Linked DNA regions of Homo sapiens: region 2 is linked to region 1. Evidence: promoter capture Hi-C in human tissues and cell types (Jung and others, 2019). All regions are on one chromosome and are shown on one strand. The core of a region is centred on a gene start or on the middle of the fragment in contact, and the rest is flanking DNA. Distances in the headings are between cores, read along the strand shown. Region 1 holds the start of NUDT14 (nudix hydrolase 14). Region 2 overlaps SIVA1 (SIVA1 apoptosis inducing factor).

Region 1 (3,322 bases), core at 773-3,272:
GGTCTGCCTGACATCACAGGCCTCCCCTGGCTGGACGCAGCAAAAAGCTGAGGGCTGCAGCTGCCCCTGGGTGGCAGCCAGCGTCCAGCCCAATGTCCCTTGGCCCTGAGGAGATGCCGCCCAGCCCGAGCCTACATCCGTGTCCACCACAGCCACAGCCCGAACCAGCTCAGCTCTGGTCACCAGAACCCTTCAGCAGAGCTGTGCCGGCGGGCTGCCCGCTGAGGCTGCAAGGGCTGCCCTGAGGCTTCACGGGGAGTGAGGGAGAGAGTGCTGCCACCAGGGCCACAGAGGGCACCTGCCTGGGCCTGCACCTGCTGCCTGAGACCCAGCCCTGTGGGGACTGTGCAGCCACAAGCAGGCATCCCATATGGCCAACGTCAGGGAAAAGGGCAGTGACCCCATGTCTCCACCTGCTGTACCCCGACTGATCCCAGCTGCCCCCTGCCAGCACCACCAGCTTAGCTTCGCCTTGGGGAGAGGGATCCCCTGTCCTCCAGCGCCAACAGGACTCCCGCAACAGGGAAAGTGAGGGGCACAGGGCCTCTCTCAGGCTGGGGGCCAAGAGGGCTTCTCCAGGATGGCGAGGGGCAGAGTCCTGGATGTGATGGGGGGGACAGGATGCCCCCTGAGGGAGGGAGGCAGGCAGGCAGAGAGGCACTGCGACCTGGACCACCTGACCTGATAGGCTGGGGGGCTGGACTGACTGTGACCAGGAAGGTGGTCTTTGCCTTAATGGCATGAAGGAGCTCTGGCAGAGGGGAGATCTGCTGGGGGCAGGTGGGCATGCAAGCAAAAGGTGGGGCCCTAACTGGACAGGGCTGGGCTTGGAGGAAGACGGCCCGGGACTCAGTGATCCACTGGATGTGGGAAAAGGATGGCAGCAGCTCCTTCACCCAACACATATGCCTCATGCCTGTAATCCCCATGCTTTGGGAAGCCAAGGCAGGAGGATCGGTTGAGGCCAGAAGTTCAAGACCAGCCTGGGCAACAGTGAGACGTCGTCTCTACAAAAAAATTTAAACATTAGCCAGGTGTGGTGGTGTGCACCTGTGGTCCCAGCTACTGGGGCGGGGGCTGAGGCAGGAGGATCGCTTGAGCCCAGGAGGTTGAGGCTGCAGTGAGCTGTGACCATGCCACTGCACTCCAGCCTGGGCGACAGCAAGACCCTGTCTCAAAAACAAAACAAAACAAAATATTCCTTGTGAACCTACCATGTGCCTGGTGCTAAGTGAGGCAATACAGCCTCTTGTGCCGTGGCCTGGCATGGGAGAAGGTGACACCCTAGGAGGTGGGGAAGGCTGAGCTTAGGCAGATGGAGACTCCAAGGAGGTGCCCTCCCTGGAAAAAACCCCAAGGAGGAAGCCTGCTTTGAGAGGCTCTCTCAAGTTCTCACTCAGCTCCTTCTCCTACCTCCCTGCGCCCGGCCTCTGCGCTCCTTGCTCCCTCCTCCTCGGCCCAGCTATCTCCTCCTTCAAGTGGTAGCATGAAAGCCACCACTTCCAGGAAGCCTTCCCTGATCCCCAGGGCAACCAAGGAGTTCCACTGCCAAGAGGGTCGGATTGGGCGGGCGGGAAGGATGGGGCCCAGCAATGCTTCCTTGAAAGGATGAGTGGTGCCCCCTCAGATGTCCCTCCCGCGGCCCCTCCCCGGCCTGGGGGCTCACTGGGTCTGGGAACCCGCGATCCGGCGGGCGGACAAGCGGCCGCCCGGGAGATCGGCGGGAGGCGGGGGCGGGGCTCCGGGGCGGGGCCGGCAGCGCGGAAGATGGTGGGCGGGGCGCGGGTCGTGGGCCGGGCCGCCGGCGGGGGCGCGGGGGACGCGGGGGCGCGGGCTCACCTGGCGGTAATGCAGCGTGAGCGGCCGCAGGTAGGGTGAGGCGGCGCAGCGGCCCACGGACGCCCCCTCGATGCGCTCCATGGCGGCGCCCGGACAGGCGGGGGCCGCGAGCTCTGCGGGGGCCGACACGGGGCGGCGCCCTGTCCCGACAGGAGCCTTCGGGCGGGCGCGTGACCGCGGCTCTGAGCATGCTCCGTGGGCGCGCGGGGCGGGGCGGCCGAGGTGGGCGGGGCGGCCGAGGTGGGCGGGGCTCGCAGGTGCCACCTGTCGGGTGCCGCGCGCCTCGGGGCGCTGGTCGCCGCGGTGCCAGGGAAGCCGCGCAGGCACGTGGGCGTCGCCCGGGGGAAGGACTGGCCGGGTCGACCCCGGCCGCCGGGCGGGGCCAGCCGGGCCGGGGTACAGTGCTTGGGTGGGACTCGGGACCTCTTGGCTGGGGGAGGGAGGGCCTGGCGGTGGTTGGAGCTAAGGGCCTGCAGCTTTGGGGTGCGATGGGCCGAGCGGATGCCTCCCCACTCTGGGGATGGACCACAACCCCGAGATTAAGTTACTCCAGGGGTCCGCGGGCGGGGCCGGGGGCGGGGCAGCCCCCCAGGGAGGGAGGGACTGTGGGCCCAGGAAGAAAATCACAGGAGACCAAAGAGAGAGGGCCCTGGAAGGAAGCTAGGGGAGAGGAGAGTAGGGAGCTGGAGGGGCCAGAGCTTGGGCCGAGGGGGCCTCCCCTCGAGGTTCCTGGTGGCGAGGGTGGCTGGGAGCTGCCACGCTGTCTCTGGAGCTGTCCCTCCTCCACTCAAAAGCCAGCTGCCCTTCCCTCCCCCTGCAAGTCCTACCTTGATGACGGCCCTTCCTGGGTGTGGGAGGGTCCCAGGCAGCTTCAGTGCTTCCTTGGGCATGGATTCCAAGGACCCCCTCCAAATGCCACCACGGCCTCCACGGGGGCAGGAAACAATATTGAGGCCCACACTGGCCCTGAACCCTGACCTGCACCTGCTTTCTGAACTATGGCCCAGGGGACATGCTCAGGGTGGACTGGCCATGTGAGCTTGAAATCGACTCCCAGTTCCCTGTTAACTATTGCCGTGTAACAAAACACTCCTCCAAAGCTTAGTGCCTTAAAGCACCCCGTTATCGCCTGGCCTGTGGGTTGCCCAGCTCAGCCAGGCAGCCCTGTCTTGGGGTCTCTCTGCAGTTGTAATCAGGTGGCAGCTGGGGCTGGAGTCGTCTGAAGGCCAAACGGGGTGGACCGTCCAGGATGGCCTCTTCGCCCCCGCCCTCAGTTGGGTGGCTGGAACAGCTAGGGCCGGCTGGCCTCCCATGTGGCTGGCGTGGGCTTCCCTGCAGCATGGTGGTCTCGGGGTAGTTGGATTCTCCCGTGGCAGCTGGCTCCCTCCAGAGCACGTTCACCAGGCCAGGCCAAGCTGCCAGGCTTTGTGTGACCTGGCCTCAGATGTCATATGGTGTCATTCCTGGGGCATCCTGTGGGTCA
Region 2 (3,178 bases), core at 1-2,500, 420 kb before region 1:
CCAGCTGTGCCATGTTCGAGACCTGAGGCTGGCTCAAGCCGGCTGCCTTCACCGGGAGCCACGCCGTGCATGGCAGCCTTCCCTGGACGAGCGCTCGGTGTTCACACTGAACTGTGGGGTCGACGGGAGGGGTGCCTTTTACATGTTCTATTTTGTATCCTAATGACAGAATGAATAAACCTCTTTATATTTGCACAAGAGGACTCTTGTCTGTCAGCACTTCTGAGGGTGGAGTTTGTGACCCTCCACCTGGGAGGGCCAAAGGAGCAGTCAGTGGGCGGGGCCTGCTGCACCTGCTGTCTACCCGCCAGCTCCTAGAGACCCCACTGTGCATTGTGTGAGGCCCCTTACTCGCCCCCTGCTACAGGTGGGAAGGCTCAGCCCAGAGCACGCTCCTCCCCAGCTCGCCCAGCTGGTAAATGGGGAGAAAGGACCCAGGTCTGGCTCCAGGGTACACAACCAGTGTACTAGACCTTCACGGAGAGAGGTGATACTCGCGCCCCATCCCCAGACGCCACTGTCATGCACGCCTGATCCATCACATCTTGGTGTCCACTTTACTTTTTTGGTGCCTGTATGGTCAGGCCCCGTGTGATTGATAGGCCCCTGCCCTCCAGGAGCTTTGCTCTAGCAGGGGAGATGGGCCCAGCTGTGCTCCCTCTGGAGTCGGTGTAGCTTGTGTGGGGCCTTGAAGGAAGAGGAGTTGACAGGAGAGGAGGCGGGGTGGCCTGGAGGACAGAAGAGGGCAGGCTGCTTGAGTGCTGGTCCCCACACAAGTCGACTGAGGCGGGTCCCAGCCCCTCCAGGGATGAGTGAGCAGTTGAGCCACAGCCCCTCTGAGAAGCTCTGGACTAGAGTAAAGGTTGTTTGGGGCAGAGGGTGGGTGGGAGCATGTGCTGGGGACAGTTGAGAAGAGCCTTTGCTGTTCCTGGGAAGCTGTTAGAAGAGCAAATTATGCTGATTCTTAGAGAAAAGTCAGTGGTGCCCAAGTGGTGGGTTGGAGCCAGGCCCAGAGTGGGATTTGCTGCCCTGGGGCCGAGGATATACCACTCCCGTGTCACGGGTAGAGGGGGCGCTCAGAGAGGTGGTCAGCATGGTAAAATTCCAGGGGGCAACTTAGAAGGGGATTGCAGAGGACTGGCTGGGGGCTTCCTGCAATGAGGACGGCCTTGACCGCCTGCTGCGAGCATCGGGAGCAAGTGGCCACGGTCAGCCACGTGCTGACTCCTTCCAGGTTTCCACAACAGACTGCCACCCAAGCCCTCATTTCTGTTACTCCTGTCGCTGCCCCCTCGGGCCTGTCGGCTCTTCCCTTCACATCCTCTGGCCACATCCCTGCCCCACAGGACCACACTACTCCAGCCAGCCTGCCTCCTTCCCCTATAGGGTCACTACATAGCGCCTTCCAGGCTCCCTGCTTCTGCCCTGCACCTGGCAGTCTGTCCTTATACAGCAGCCAGATCTGTCACTCCCCTGTCCCAACACTCCAGTGGCTAAACATGTCCTTAAAAGTAAAAGTCTGTGGCCCCACAGCCTCTGGCTTCACCCCTCCTCCCCTATCCCAAGGCTTGCTCTGCCCCAGCCAGGCCTTCCTGCTGTTCTGAGAATGCTCAGCATGTTTCCCCTGCACCCCCCTCGCTCCTTCTGCCTGGGGAGCTCTTCCTCTGGACATCCATAGGGCTCCCCCGGATTCAGCTCAGAGAAGCATCCCAGTGCCCTAATGTGTAGGACAACCCCTCCATCACGCTCCCTCTCGCCCTACCTAACTTTACCACTGGACGTAATGCATATTTAAGTAAATATGCAAATGTACTTATTCTAACTCTACTAACTGAGGTGTCGCTTCCGTGAGGGGTGGGACTTTGCCTAGAGCAGTACCTGGCATATATGTTTGCAGTAAATATTGTTGGTCTTCCAGCTGTGGTGGAGCAACAAAAACTGGCCCATAGATGACTATATAGAGAGAGAGACATCGGACAGCAGCCATTGCAGGATAGTAACGCCTGAGAGAGGGAACAAACACCAAGAGCCCAGGGCAGCTGCAACACTGGAGTAGAAATTGCCTCAGTGTTCCCCTAAGGCTCCTGCTGAGGACTGATGGCTCCTGTGTGTGAGGAAACTGCCTGAGGCTGGGGAAAGAGCCATTGGAAGAAAGCGGGAAGCAAGTCACATTCCCAGCACTAAGTGTGGGGAAACATCATTCATGGAGAACAGGGTAGAGGACTCAAAAGGATATTGATGCCATATTCAGGCTAGATTAGCCCTAGACTAGAGACTGCTCTGTGCCTTCCTAACACCTTTAAGTCAAGCCTCAAAAAGACCAAACGGTTGCAAGTGCTTTAATAGCATCCAGAACAAAACTCAAAAGTAAGGGGGAAAACATATTTATTTACTTATTTTTTTTAGAACAAACGAGGCCGGGTGTCAGAGGCTCACGCCTGTAATCCAAGCACTGTGGGAGGTCAAGGCGGGTGGATCACTTGAGGCTAGGAGTTTGAGAACAGCCTGGCCAACATGGTGAAACCCCGTCTCTAAAAATACAAAAATAAGCCAGGCACGGTGGCATGTGCCTGTAATCCCAGCTACTCGGAAGGCCGAGGCAGGAGAATCACTTGAACCCAGGAGGTGGAGGTAAGTAAGCCAAGATCTCAATCTCACCACTGCACTCTAGCCTGGGCGACAGAGTGAGACTCCGTCTCAAAAAAAGAAAAAAAACAATCAAACATGCAAAGAAGCAGGAACTATACCACACAATGAGAAGAAAAGTTAGTCTGTAGAAACAGACCCAGAAATGACACAAGGTGGTAGAATAATTCCGTCTACTAAGTAGACAGGGACATCAGAATGGCCATTATTAAGAAGGATAGACGAAAACAGGAGCATGTTAAGAAAAGGAATGAAAGACATAAAAATGGCCCAAACAATTTCCAGAGACAAAAATACAATGTCTGAGATGGAAAATACACTGATGAGATTAAAACCAAAATAGACATTGCAGAGCAAAAAATTAGTGGACTTGAAGCCATTGCAATATAAGCTATCCAAAAGGGAACAGAAAAAAAATGAGGAAAATGGCAGAGCCCCTCTGAGTTGTGGGACCACTTCAAGCAGCCTACTGTGCCTTTAACTGGAGACCCATGGACGAGGGGCATAGCAGGGTGGAGACAACTTTTGGAAA

What was found. Contacts are between HindIII fragments. The study calls those that stand out against the background at their distance.
Region 2: a fragment that was not itself captured here is called in contact with the fragment with the promoter of NUDT14 in region 1 in 1 of the 25 tissues and cell types used here (mesendoderm cells).

Annotation. Positions count from the first base shown.
Region 1 is chr14:105,179,290-105,182,611 of GRCh38, forward strand. It overlaps NUDT14 (nudix hydrolase 14), which reads right to left and starts at 2,023. Exons shown (of 5, transcript NM_177533.5): 1 at 1,840-2,023. The coding sequence starts at 1,920. RefSeq lists a silencer at 1,723-2,192. The HindIII fragment of the contact is 11,467 bases long and covers 1-3,322 here.
Region 2 is chr14:104,759,460-104,762,637 of GRCh38, forward strand. It overlaps SIVA1 (SIVA1 apoptosis inducing factor), which reads left to right. Exons shown (of 4, transcript NM_006427.4): 4 at 1-195. The coding sequence ends at 26. The region is part of intron 1 of LOC107987209 (a long non-coding RNA gene); the gene reads right to left. Among named protein-coding and RNA genes, the nearest start is that of SIVA1, 7.9 kb to the left of the region's middle. RefSeq lists enhancers at 1-884, 885-1,831. The HindIII fragment of the contact is 8,734 bases long and covers 1-3,178 here.